Regions from separate parts of the Homo sapiens genome. Here regions 1, 3, 4 and 5 are each linked to region 2. Evidence: promoter capture Hi-C in human tissues and cell types (Jung and others, 2019). All regions are on one chromosome and are shown on one strand. Each heading gives the region's core, a stretch centred on a gene start or on the middle of the fragment in contact. The rest is flanking DNA. Distances are from core to core; before and after follow the strand shown.

What was found. Contacts are between HindIII fragments. The study calls those that stand out against the background at their distance.
Region 1: a contact is called between the fragment with the promoter of KRTAP2-4 here and a fragment that was not itself captured in region 2, in 5 of the 25 tissues and cell types used here (adrenal gland, aorta, bladder and 2 more).
Region 3: the fragment with the promoter of KRTAP4-7 here is called in contact with a fragment that was not itself captured in region 2 in 3 of the 25 tissues and cell types used here (IMR-90 fibroblasts, aorta and dorsolateral prefrontal cortex).
Region 4: the fragment with the promoter of KRTAP1-1 here is called in contact with a fragment that was not itself captured in region 2 in 7 of the 25 tissues and cell types used here (IMR-90 fibroblasts, dorsolateral prefrontal cortex, liver and 4 more).
Region 5: a contact is called between the fragment with the promoter of KRT33B here and a fragment that was not itself captured in region 2, in 7 of the 25 tissues and cell types used here (H1 embryonic stem cells, bladder, lymphoblastoid cells and 4 more).

The regions. Positions count from the first base shown.
Region 1 is chr17:41,064,597-41,067,296 of GRCh38, forward strand. KRTAP2-4 (keratin associated protein 2-4) reads right to left here and starts at 1,283. Exons shown (of 1, transcript NM_033184.4): 1 at 520-1,283. The coding sequence starts at 1,249. The coding sequence ends at 863. RefSeq lists enhancers at 479-1,016, 1,017-1,553. The HindIII fragment of the contact is 9,926 bases long and covers 1-2,700 here.
Region 2 is chr17:41,214,564-41,217,335 of GRCh38, forward strand. No RefSeq gene overlaps it. Among named protein-coding and RNA genes, the nearest start is that of KRTAP9-2, 11 kb to the right of the region's middle. The HindIII fragment of the contact is 7,634 bases long and covers 1-2,772 here.
Region 3 is chr17:41,082,747-41,085,446 of GRCh38, forward strand. It overlaps KRTAP4-7 (keratin associated protein 4-7), which reads left to right and starts at 1,404. Exons shown (of 1, transcript NM_033061.4): 1 at 1,404-2,398. The coding sequence starts at 1,461. The coding sequence ends at 1,928. RefSeq lists an enhancer at 1,699-2,228. The HindIII fragment of the contact is 7,861 bases long and covers 1-2,700 here.
Region 4 is chr17:41,040,128-41,042,827 of GRCh38, forward strand. KRTAP1-1 (keratin associated protein 1-1) reads right to left here and starts at 1,323. Exons shown (of 1, transcript NM_030967.3): 1 at 414-1,323. The coding sequence starts at 1,270. The coding sequence ends at 737. The HindIII fragment of the contact is 12,161 bases long and covers 1-2,700 here.
Region 5 is chr17:41,368,522-41,371,221 of GRCh38, forward strand. It overlaps KRT33B (keratin 33B), which reads right to left and starts at 1,292. Exons shown (of 7, transcript NM_002279.5): 1 at 882-1,292. The coding sequence starts at 1,229. The HindIII fragment of the contact is 10,508 bases long and covers 1-2,691 here.

The DNA of each region.
Region 1 (2,700 bases), core at 33-2,532, 150 kb before region 2:
AGAAAATAAACAGCCTTGGGCCCCACTCCCAGAGATTTTGATTCATTAGGTTTGGTTTGGGGCCTAAGAATGTGCATTTTAATAGGCAATTGCAAGAGATTCTATTGTGTATGACGCATGGGCCACACTTTGAAAAATGCTACTCTAGGAACTGTGGTAAGAAGATGAGATGCGCTGTGCTGGTCAGTTTACTACCAGTGGTCATTCTGGGCTTGGCATATGCTATTCCCACTTCTACCCCTCTTCATGAACATTGTCTTTCCTTTTGTCTATTCCATTAGACCATAAGCTTCTTGGATACAAGGCATGTAGCTTGTTCATCACTAATCAGGCAGCACCTGTCAACTGGAGGTCCCTTGATAAACAATTCCTGAATGACTGAATAGATGAGATTTCTATGGATAAGGTTTTGCTTAGGTTGAGCTTTGTTTCCCTTGTGCAGGTTCCAAAATCTTGCTTATCTGTGTACGCTAATAAACATGCACTAACGAACAAATCAGGGAGCAGGGCAGTCTGCTATGCCAGGAAAAATTAGTTTATTGACAACAGTGAGCAACACATTGCAAAAGATGATGGTGACAGTTTGAGCAGTAAAAACCATCAGGTTGTAGAATGTGTTTGCAAAGTCCACCCCAGGAATTCTTAAAGGTCGATTTACTATCCATAATGACTAAGGCTGATGTAGACACCTGAAAATGTGGGTGAGGGTGGTAATGGACGTCTGCTTACACCAGGCTGTATCCAGATGGTAAAAATCACTATTGTCACCTTGTGAAAAAAAATCTATTTTTCTTTTAACTTTTTAAAAACACCAGATAGATGTTTAGGCTTCAGTGTATTGCTCTGTGGGGGCATTGGGGTCTCAGCAGGAGGAGGTCCTGCAGGTGGTGCTGCAAGGGGTCGGCTGGCCGCAGGGGGGCCGGCAGCAGGGGGACTGCACAGACACAGGCTGGCAGCAGGTGGTGGCCCAGCAGCAGGGCCTGCACACCACAGCCGTGCACGACGAGGGGCAGCAGGTGATGGGGCGGCAGCAGCCTTCCTGCAGGGAGCAGGGGTCGCAGCACACCGGGCGGCGGCAGGGCTCGCAGATGGGGCGCGTGCAGCGGGGCACGCAGGTCACGGGGCGGCACACGGTGGTCTGGCAGGTCACGGGGCGGCAGCAGCAGGGGTCGCGGCAGCAGCAGGGCTGGCAGCAGCCTCCCCCGTAGCTCAGGGAGGACAAGGTGGAGCCGCAGCAGGAGCCGGTCATGGTGGTGTCTGAGGCTGGTGTGGGTTGGGCTATTGAGAGGAGCTGGATGTTCTCAGGTGTGAATGTCCTCCTCCCCCTCTGGGCCCTTTATATACCCTGGCTGGGAGCTGATGACCCTTCAACATATGATCATTTTCTTGTGCATCTTCTGGCCAATTAAGTGAAGATTTAGCATTGACTAATGGTATTTTGGTCACTCTTCACCTCATACATATTCATGTACATACACCACAAATATTCGCTCATTTTCTTGTATTGTTTATCCTCACTAAATTTAGACATTGGATTCACTTCTGATTAATTTTCCTTTGAAATATTCCTAACCCATAAGAGAGAAAAGAATGTGTTTTCTAAATTAGTGTCTAATCGCTCTGCCCTTTGGCGCTAAAATTAGCATGTTCTTCCTTGTCTTCAAAGGCTCCCATCACCGGCACCCAAGCAGTGACTTGCCTTATTAATGCACATGGGCATGATGGTAGCAGGTTAATTGCATCATCCTAGTGCAGACCAGTAGTCATCTGCTTCACAGATAGCTCCTTCCATGACTCACTTAAAGATAGGCTTGTGGTTTTTCATATGAGCAGGGACCACACGAAATGCAGATCCCTGGCCACTGGTGTGGTCACTCTCCCCTGACTAGGACCTGGGCTTTCCTGCCTTGGTTTTGATGTGTCATCATTCACCTGGAATGCCCTCCTCATCCTTCCAATCCAAACTCAACTTCTACCTTGATTGTAAAACCCTCTTCAAGGATCCATTGCAATTATTATATTTGTAATTTGTTTGGAATTAGTCGTTGCATCTGTAGAGTCCGGGAAGGGATTGCGGAGAATATGTAGGCCTATGCCCTCACTCTACAGCTGAGGTCCTGAGAGTGTACCAAGGTCACACAATGAGGTCACCATATGAGGTCTGAGATCCAGGTCTCCTCAGTCTGCAGTAAGTAGCCTCTACTATGAGTTTTATGCTCATTGGATTCAGTAAACCATGGTCTTTAGACAGGAAAGAAAACATATATTAAAGTAGAAGCCCAGACTTCATGCCACTATGCAATATATCCATGTAACAATGCTGCATTTGAACCTCTTACATTTATACATATTAAACACAGATTTAAAAAAATAAGTAATGAACTTTCCTTTCAGCAGCAAGGTTAGAAGTGGTACTGGAAGAGAATTAGGGAAATGTTTTGCCCAGATGACACATTGTCATCCTGGACCCCCATTGACTCCACTAAGTATGACAATGTGTCTGAGAGCTAGAGAAGGGACCTGGAGAAAGCTAACATGATGCAGGGTTTATTAGTGGAACTTACATACAAGGGTGGTCCAGTGGTGGTATCTGGACAGGAGAACTGCTATTATTTGTAAAAAGCATGCAGTTCACACAGTATTTTCATTAGAACCCTCCACCTAACAACCTCCATTTAATCCAAAACAAAGGGCCTCAAT
Region 2 (2,772 bases), core at 8-2,507:
TGTCACATTTACAGAATTATACTAAGGACTTAGAACCGGGAAGGGGTGCACTCGAAGTTGTTCTCTGACAATGGAAACACCAATTCCACGCATTTGCAGACCATTTTCTACTAACAAAGTTCTTTCCAAATTCATTCCCCTAACCAATAGCCACATCTTAAGAGCAACAACTCGTTTTAAGAGCCCTCGTGAATCATGTGAACATTTTATATTCTCAGTCTCTTGTCAGGCACTGGTGAAGTTCTTTAAATATTTTTGAGCACCCATTGTGTTCCTGCCTCTGTCCTGGGACTTTGGTGTGAGAGGCTCATCTAGAAATACTTGTTTGTTGAAATAATGGAATTGGCATTCTGTTTGTCCTCATTCTTCTGGTCACCTAAATAAATGGTAATAGAAGATTAAGTCATGGCCCAAAAAACTTAGGCCACATTTCATTTGCACCCAAACTTTGAGAGATAATTTGTTTTCACATCAAAACTTTTTATTCCTGGCTTACTGTTTTTTTATTGTGGTAAAATACACATAAAATTTACAATTATAATCTTTATTTATTTATTTATTTTTGAGATGGAATTTTGCTCTGTCACCCAGGCTGGAGTGCAGTGGCACGTTCTCAGCTCACTGCAACCTCCGCCTTCCAGGTTCGAGCGATCCTCCTGCCTCAGCCTCCCGAGTAGCTGGGACTACAGGCATGTGCCACCATGCCTGGTTAATTTTTTGTAGTTTTAGTAGAGATGGGGTTTCACTATGTTGGCCAGATTGGTCTCAAATACCTTACCTCGTGATCCACCTGCCTCAGCCTCTCAAAGTGTTGGGATTACAGGTGTGAGCCACCGTGCCCAACCACAATTATAATCATTTTTACATATACAGTTCAGTGGAAGTAAGTACACTCATGTTGTTAGACAACCATCATCTGTCTCCAGAAATTTTAAAAAATTTTTTAAATTATTTATTTTTTATTTTATCAACTTTTATTTTAAGTTCTGGGATACGTGTGCAGGATGTGCAGGTTTGTTACATAGGTAAATGTGCCATGGTGGTTTGCTACACAGATCAACCCATCACCCAAGTATTAAGCCCAGAACCCATTAACTGTTCTTCCTGATGCCCTCCCTCTCATTGCCTGCAACAGGCCCCAGTATGTGTTGTTCTCCCACCCCAACGTTTGTCCATGTGTTCCCATCATTCAGCTCCCACTTATAAATGAAAACATGTCATTTTGGTTTTCTGTTCCTGTGTTAGTTTGCTGAGAATAACAGCTTCTAGCTCCATCCATGTCCCTACAAAGGACATGATCCAGTTCCTTTTTATGGCTGCATAGTATTCCATTGTGTACATGTATCATATTTTCTTTATCCAGTCTACTCTTGATGGGCATTTGGGTTGGTTCCATGTCTTTGCTATTGTGAGTAGTGCTGCAGTGAACATATGCATGCATGTATCTTTATGATAGAATGATTTCTATTCCTTTGGGTATATATCCAGTAAAGGGATTGCTGAATCAAATGGTATTTCTGGGGATGGTGCTATCTGGTCCAGCTACTATGCTTTTCTATGGTCTTCACAACTCACAGACCAGGAGATTCCCTCGGGTGCCTACACCACCACGGCCCTGGGCTTCAAGCACAAAACTGGGTGGCTGTTTGGGCAAACACCAAGCTAGCTGTAGGAGTTTTGTGTTTTTGTTTTGCTTTGTTGTTGTTGTTGTTGTTTTCATATCCTAGTGGTGCCTGGAATGCCAGCGGCACAAAACTGTTCACTACCCTGGAAAGGGGCTGAAGCCAGGGAGCCGAGTGGTCTTGTTCAGCAGATCCCACCCCCAAGGCACCCAACAAGCTAAAATTCACTGGCTTGAAATTCTCGCTGGCAGCACAGCAGTCTGAAGTCGACCTGGGACACTCGAGCTTGGTGCGGGGAGGGGCGCCCACCACTGCCAAAGCTTGAGTAGGCAGTTTTCCCCTCACAGTGTAAACAAAGTTGCCGGGAATTTCGAACTGGGTGCGGAACCACCTCAGCACAGCAAAGCCACTGTGGCCAGACTGCCGCTCTATATTCCTCCTGTCTCGGGAGGTCATCTCTGAAAGAAAGGCAGCAGCCCCATTCAGGGGCTTACAGATAAAACTCCCATCTCCCTGGGACAGAGCACCTGTGGGGTGGGGCAGCTGTGGGCACAGCTTCAGCAGCAGACTCAAACGTTCCTGCCTGCGGGCTCTGAAGAGATCGACTGTTCTCCCAGCACAGCGCTCAAGCTCTGCTAAGGGACAGACTGCCTCCTCAGGTGGGTCTCTGACCCACATGCCTCCTGACTCCTCCCAGCAGGGGTCAACAGACACCTCATAGCGGAGAGCTCCGGCTGGCATCTGGCAGGTGCCCCCTGGGACAAAGCTTCCAGAGGAAGGAGCAGGCAGCAATACCCAGGCAAACAGGGTCTGGAGTGGACCTTCAGCAAACTCCAGCAGACCTGCAGAAGAGGGGCCTGACTGTTAGAAGGAAAACTAACAAACAGAAAGCAACAGCATCAATATCAACAAAAAGGATGCCCACGCAAAAACCCAATCCAAAGGTTACCAATATCAAAGACCAAAGGTGGATAAATCCAAGAAGATGAGGAAAAACCAGCACAAGAAAAGGCTGAAAATTCCAAAAACCAGAATGCCTCTTCTCTTCCAAAGGATTACAACTCCTCACCAGCAAGGGAACAAATCTGGACAGAGAATAAGTTTGATGAATTGACAGAAGTAGGTTTCAGAAGGTGGGTAATAACAAACT
Region 3 (2,700 bases), core at 154-2,653, 130 kb before region 2:
AGAAGTAAACGTCTATGATACAGTAGAATGTATCACATTATGAGCACAAGGCAGGAAATAATGATAAATGAATGGGGTAGTTTATCAGGAAAGATATTACTGAGGAGGAAATATTTAACTGGGTTTTGACAAATGAGTAGGAGTTTGCAGAGTGGACAAAAAAAGACGACACATTCCAAGAAGATGAAGCAGTTTCAGCAAGCTTAGCAAATTTTGTTCTTTACCACTTTCTTGGCTACACTAAGACATATTAGGCTTACTTTCTCTTTAATCTTGGACAAGCATTTTGTTTGTTTGTTTTAGCTTTTTAATGCTTCTTTTGAGTATTCTGCTAAAAGAGCAATAAGAATGTACACTACTTTATAAGGTTGTAATAAAGAGTGAAAATGAAAAAGATATTTAGCACAATGTCTGGTACATAGTCAATACTTCACAAGTAATATACATACCCTGAGGATGTATGGAACTTATCCACATACTATACATTTTTATTTTAGTTGTTTAATGAACATAATTGTAATTCTTTTCATTTTTGCCAAATTCTGTTTCTTATGCATGTGTCTTATACAAGTACCTGCAGGAAAAAGAGGAGGGTTTATCTGTTCTATACCCAGAGTACCCAATAGAATGTCTTGGATGCATATTATTGAAGGCTTAATAATTCTAAATATTGTTTACATATAACAAATGCTTTTGTCAATGAATAATCCATCATGCAGTTTTGATGATCAAAGGTAAATCAAAACTTCCTACTCCAAATGCCTATACTGTAAGACATACAGAAAAATGTGTTTTTACTCATTAAAGGCAATGAGTCATGGCTAAGTACTTTCACTTGGAGTGGTGGAATGAGATCTGACACAGAGTTTATAACTTCCTTAAGATCTGACCATCTCCCCAACCATTCAAGAAGCATACACGGAATCAGAGTCATCTTCATTATAGATGGGACATCCTTCTCCCGAATGAGTCCTTCCTTCTAATTCCTTTCCAACATTTCATCTGACCAGGACATTATTTGACAACAAAAGACACATTAACATTATAAAAGTTGTCCCCCATGATTTGCAGAGAGCAATCTACAGGTAGGAGGGAGAATCACATTTAGAAATAAAGTGTCAGAGTCATGTGACCAGTGCTTTGTAAAAGACACTGCAGAGACCAGGGACAAAGGTGACCCCCACTAAGGAAGAAATATGACAAGTGTTTCCAATAGAAACACAGGAGCACAGCAGGAAAAGGAAATGGGTTATTTTCTCTCTTTTGGAGTATTTAAGTAGAAACACACAATTATGTAATTACATGATTAAGTTTTCCACGAGGTAAATAATAAGGAAATAATGACGTGGTGGCAATGGGCCTTCAGCAGGGTATAAAGGAGGCTATGGACCCAGAAGACTTCCAAACCCAAGAACTTCACTCTCTTGGAAACCCACCCAGATCCTCCCCGTTCTGACACCATGGTCAGCTCCTGTTGTGGCTCCGTGTGCTCTGACCAGGGCTGCAGCCAAGACCTCTGTCAGGAGACCTGCTGCCGCCCCAGCTGCTGTCAGACCACCTGTTGCAGGACCACCTGCTACCGCCCCAGCTGTTGTGTGTCCAGCTGCTGCAGGCCCCAGTGCTGCCAGTCTGTGTGCTGCCAACCCACCTGCTGTCGCCCCACCTGCTGTGAGACGACCTGCTGCCACCCTAGGTGCTGCATCTCCAGCTGCTGCCGCCCCAGCTGCTGTATGTCCAGCTGCTGCAAGCCCCAGTGCTGCCAGTCTGTGTGCTGCCAGCCCACCTGCTGCCGCCCCAGCTGCTGCCGCCCCTGCTGCTGCCTGCGTCCAGTCTGTGGCCGAGTCTCCTGCCACACCACTTGCTATCGCCCAACCTGTGTCATCTCCACCTGTCCCCGCCCCTTGTGCTGTGCCTCCTCTTGCTGCTGAGCCCACTGCCCTGGCTCACGTCCCCCTTCACCACTGGCCCACAGATGTAGACCCTTCTACTGTGCTGACCATTAGGATACATGAAGTGGGGTTGATGTCATTCAATAGGATGGACCTTATGCTTCCAAAGAGCCCACCACCATTTCACTGACTCTGTGAGAACATTCTGGTTCATTTTAAACTCCCTCCTTTGCTTTCTTTTTCTTCTGGTGGTGGCACCAAATGTGAATTAATTTGTAATACACTAGCTAAGAAATTATTCCAATCTTCTGATTTCCTTATTTTCTTTATCACTTTAAGGTACAGATTCTCCTTCTCAGTGAGGTAGATATTATCTGCAGGACCAGTTTTGTCACTGATGTTGCACCCTCAGATCCAGCCACCCAATTGTATTCTGTGTTTCTCCTAGGGTGAATTTCTTATGCTTTGTTGTATCTCTGCTTTCTAATAAACTTTTCTGCACTTAAGAATTCATTGGTATCATTCTCTATTGCTTTCATAATTATTTTACTGATTCCCTGGCAATTATATTTTACACAAAGACACAGGAGGAGCAACCCGTCTTGAAATCATTTTGAAGATACATTCTATATCAAATATAGATAATTTAAGGTATTGGAATAAAAGTGCTGTGTGTATATGTGTGTGTATGTGCACATGTGTCTTAATATTCTAAATTAAGACATTTAATTCATGCCTTAGCTCTTGAAACACATTTTATCATGAACACATTATATCTCACAATACTATTGTCCCTATTTTGACAAAAAAC
Region 4 (2,700 bases), core at 73-2,572, 170 kb before region 2:
TCGTTACATGCTATTACTCTGTAATCTTGTGTTTGTATTCTTTCACAATTTTTATTATGCTTTTGTATATCTTGGAGGACAGAAATAATTGTATACAACCTCATATATGAATGGATGAATGAATAGATTTGGCAAAACCTCAAGAAGCTGAATCAATCTGTTGGAATACCTAGCCCACCACTTTGCACATGAGAGGACCTTAGGAAACAGTTCCTAAATGTTGTCAAGTTCCTTTAATCATATGTCTTGGCTGCAAAATATTGGACCATTTAATGGTAAAACAAAGGAAAATTGCTGTTAAATATCATCATTAAAAGAGCAAAAGTACAGAAAAACCATAGTGTCATGTCATGTTGATATTTTGAAAAATCCCAGTACCCCAATATTGTTAATAAATTCCAAAGCAAAGAAAGTTCAAACAACAACTTCATCATTGAAGAGATGAAAACTTTTATTAAATTTAAGTCCCAATAACTGTTGAAATATTTCAGGTGATATTTATAGTAAAATAGTATCTAACTCTTTTCACATTGTAGGACTTTGGCTGACAACCAGGTCTAGGAAAAATTTTTGGTCTTCCATTGTAAATGAATTTACTTCCTAGGGAATTTATGTGGCTGTGTGATGAGAGGTTGCAAGCCCAGTTATAGGTACTGGAGTTCAGAAGATTGTTAGGATTCTAATTTGGCTAGTTTTAAGGTGCCATCTTATCAGGATCCCCAGCAGAAGGAGGTTTTCAACAAGTGGGCTCAGAGCAGTAGCAGCAGCAGACTGGGCGGCAACAGGACTGTCCACAGTAGGATGGGCGGCAGCAGGAGGCCTCGGCGTGGTGCAGCTGGCAGCAGGATGGGGGTGTGCAGCTCACCACGCAGCAGGGGGGCAGGCAGGTACCCTCCACACGGCAGTCTGGGCGGCACCACCTGATACGGGTGCTCACAGCTCCACTGCTGCCCTCCTGGCCATAGCCAATGCCACCACCAATGCCACAGCCAGTTCCGCAGGAGCTGGTCTGGTAGCAGCTTGGCTGGCAGCAGCTAGTTTCACAGCAGCTTGGCTGGCAGCAGCTAGAGTCACAAGTCCCACCGGTTGAGAAGCTAGGAAATCCACAGAAGCTGGTCTGGCAGCAGCTTGGCTGGCAGCAGCTGGTCTCACAGCAGCGTGGCTGGCAGGAGCTGGTCTCACAGCAGCTTGGCTGGCAGCAGCTGGAGCCGCAGGTCCCACTGGTGGAGCAGCTGGGAAATCCACAGAAGCTGGTCTGACAGCAGGCCATGGTGTCAGGAGTTGATCTGAAGGTTGGGTTGCTTGGAGGAGTTTCTGAATTATGGCTGCCTATTCCACTGCCGGCTTTTTATAAGTCTGGGCCAATTCCTCTATTTGTGGCGAGCAACATTTTTATCTTGTTACTCTTTAAACCAGCCTTTCTAGGGCCCTCTGATGGTTCAAATGCTGAATTGTTTTAAATATATCTCAAAATTGATTTTTCCTTATTGCTCAGCTAATACTCACCAAATGTGTTTGTCCTTGGTAAAAATGTTAACATTTTGTTTACAAACAATGGTATAATTTCCACTTGAGCTTCAGCTTCAGGTTTGCACTTGTGGGTATATCACCTGACAAAGTGACTCTCACCCATAAGGTGATGTGATTTTGGAGATCATATTCACCAAACCTCAGGTCTCCAGAAAAGAATTATTAATCATGATTGCCCTTATGTAAGACTGCTTTGTATTTTTTAGACTAATAAGATTATCCTCTCTCGATATAATCTTATTAGCCAGATAGAAACTCTGATAAACTCTATATTCATAGAAATTCATAGATTTTTCCCTGAAATGGAATCTTTCCAATTTCTGTGATATCTCCTGAACTTCACATTCATATTTTAGGAAACATTGATCACTCAGGAGGATATATAAAACAAAACCTGTTCAATTTCAATGTCTCTTAAAAAAGAGGCTAAAATTCATATTCAGTAATTGGAAAAAATTGCAAAATATTTTAACAAAATTTACACTTCTCTATGAAAGACAAAAATCACTTGTATATGGATTATCTGGCATATAATTTTTCAAAGGCAGAATTTAATTTTAATTTATGTCATTTCAAGTTACTAAACCATGTGTCCTGTGAAAAGATATTAGACCAAAGAGCATGACAACTGAATTTAGGAAAGGGAATAAATCAAAGAAAAAGCAAGAGTTAGAAAATACTTTTATCTGCTTTATAAGGCAGGTTAGAAAATGGGTGACCAAATATAGTTCAAGAGGTGTAGTATAATAAATGCAAAGAGATTAAGAAAAATTTCAGCAAAATAAAAGTTAAAACAATTCCTGGTCATTGCCAGAAGAAAGAATGTAATTTTCACTGGGAGTTTAGGGTTACGTGAGATAAATGAAAAAAGGCTGGTCAAAAACATATTATTTCTACTTGGGGTAGGTTTATTTCTCCCTTCCAATCATGAATAGAAACACATAGTTAGCTTTTTATGAGGTGGTGGCATTTGTTTGTACAGGAATGGGGTTATATCACAATGTGATTCATGCCAGCTTCAGTAAAGATGTTCACGTCATATGGTAACCATGACTGTAGGTATGAAGTTGAAAATGGTTATATGTAATCAATGAATGTTGGAGATCAAAAATGTAGTAAATTATCTTGTTCCACCACTTAATTTTATAGGTGTAGAAACTGACATCATTC
Region 5 (2,700 bases), core at 42-2,541, 150 kb after region 2:
GTTTCCACATCTATCTCCCCTGTTAGACTGTGAGCTCCTGAAGGAAGGAGACTGTCTTACTCAGTACATTATCCCCCACCCCAGCACTGTGCCTAACACTCTCCAACTCTGGGTAAATAAATGAATGATATTCAAATAGCACAACCCCTTTCTGGCATCTAATTTTCCAGATCTACAGAACAGTGGGCAGTCAATTCCCTCCCAGAATCAAGGGCTTGTACAATTGGATATAAACTCCCACTCATCCTTCAAACCCCACTCAGACATTGCCTCTTCTGGGATCCCTCCCAAACCTACACCAGGTATTCAGTCCCAATTCTCTGTGGACTCTTTACTTATATCTACTTCTCTTCCAGAACAGATGGCCCCATATTGTCATCTGTACACATGGCTGCTCTAGAGGATGGTCCATGTGTCTGTAGATATTGCTGGAGTCAACAGCTCTCTTGTGTTGCCATAAATGCTATATTTTGCTACAGCTTTGAAAGGCTTTAAATATTTGAAGATTTACTTAGGAAATTCTTAGCATAGAAAATAATTCAGGTGCATACTTTTTGAAAATGCGGTAATGCTCTGAAAACAAAACCAGGGTATCATAATCAAACCAAAAAATCAGATATTCTGGTTTGGAGTAAGACGCCATATAAGATTGCTATGACTGATTTTGGTCTAATGCTTCACTCTAACACCAGCCTGCATCCTTCCTTTGTGGCTCTACAACAGATTTTCTAAGACTACTTGATGTCATACCTAAGCCAGTGAATCTATGTCTTTATCATTCTCAGCATTACTGTGAACAGACTTAGATCCATTCACAGTTTAGTATGTCAAATATAGATAAGTAGTTCATTAAGCTGGCAGTGTGGTGCCCACCTCCTCACCTTCTGCTGGAGCTCCTCAATGGTCTTGAAGTAGGACTGGTAGCTGGGGCACAGCAAGGGCTCCTGCTGCTGAGACCGCTCCCGGATGAGGTTCTCCAGCTCCGCGTTGTCCCGCTCCAGCTGACGCACCTTCTCCAGGTAGCTGGCCAGGCGGTCGTTCAGGAACTGCATAGTCTCCTTCTCGCTGCCATTGAAGGAGCCCTCGCAGAACCAGTTGCAGTTGCTCACATTGGCAGGGATGTTGCAGGCCCCGGGCAGGGTGTAGCCGTGGCAGCTGGGGGGCACACAGGGCCGGGAGGAGCAGCTGGTGCGGCAGCTCAGGCTGGGCAGGCAGAAGTTGTAGGGCATGGTGCAGGGAGGCAGTGGAGCTCTGGAAGTCAGTTTCAAAACCTGATTCCTTTTCCCTGGGATAAGCCTTGGTCCTTTCCAGGGCTTTATATTCTGTTAGCAGTGGGTGTGGCAACCATGTCAAGTATTCCTCCTTTTTACCTCCTTTGCTGATTTTTCCATTTGTTATTTAGCCACTTCACCTGAGTCCTATACCTCATTAAATGTTTTACTCTGGCTTCTTGCTAAGTCAGGACTCCTCACAAAACATGCTGATTGGTTAAGTAAGAGCTTCATGGTTTGGCTTCAAAGTGACCAACCTTGCCTGTAGCAGTGCTTATCCATGGGACATTGAGCTAGAGTGACAGCTGGGCCCTGTCCCCAGAGTAGGGGGCACATATGTGCCTCTTTCTCCTAAATGAGGAAAGGCTTGTGTCTCATCCAGTTCATATTCAATTAAGACTCTGTGAGAAAAGCCATGTAAGGAAACCCGTCTAGAAACTAGACTATGTGATAGGGAATCCTGGAAGCTGAAATGAGAAAGGACTTACAAGGCCATTGGTTCAAGGCCCATTTGCAGTTCCATCCAGGCAGATGGAGGCAACTCTACCCTCTTCCTATGGGGCTGCAGGAAGCCACCCACCTCCGTTTCTACTAGTATTCAGTGTTCACAGAACATTAAGAAACCTAAATTTTGGGAGCACCTACTCTGCATGAAGCACTGTGCTCCATGCCTGTGCACAGCGTGACTCTGTCATTGGTGATGGGTCCTGCTTGCTGAGCCTCCACTGTGCACCAGGCACAGTGCCAGGCACCTCATATGCACCAGCTCCTTCAGTCCTCTCAAAATGCTGCAAGGGTTTGTAGATAAGGACCCTAAGCCTCTGAGAGGTCTCCCAAGGTCACAGAGCTCCTACATGATGGAGCCAGGGTTCAAATACAGATCTCTCTAATTCCAATGTCCACACTCTGTCATATTACATGTCTCTCTCTTCCAATCTTTTCAGTACTGAGATGCAATAATGCAAAAAATACAGATTGAGCTCCATTGAGCTCAATCAGTGCTGACAATATCCTAAATTAGAATGGGCCAAAAAATAACAAGCCTGTTTTTTACTTATTAAAGAACCAAAAGTCACTTCTATGCTGAAGGAAGGAAGTTTACTAAGTGAAAATGCCTCATACCCACTAGAAGCTTGAAAAAAAAAAAAAAAGGAAACCCTTGGTTGATCTGAGGGAGAAATACCCAAGCCTAGCTCTCCAAAGGATATGACCCTGAAAATCCACCACTATGTCATGTGCATGAAGTGGCATTTTATGACCATTGGCACATTTTGGCAAGCAGATGCTCTACTCTCATGCATTCCAGATGGAACTATGAAATATGAGGATTTTATGTTTAATCTATCAGTGCTCAAATTCTGAAAGATACTCCTCCAAGTTGTTCCTTTTGGAAGCTACATATTAAGTCTTGCCATACAAGAATTCTTTT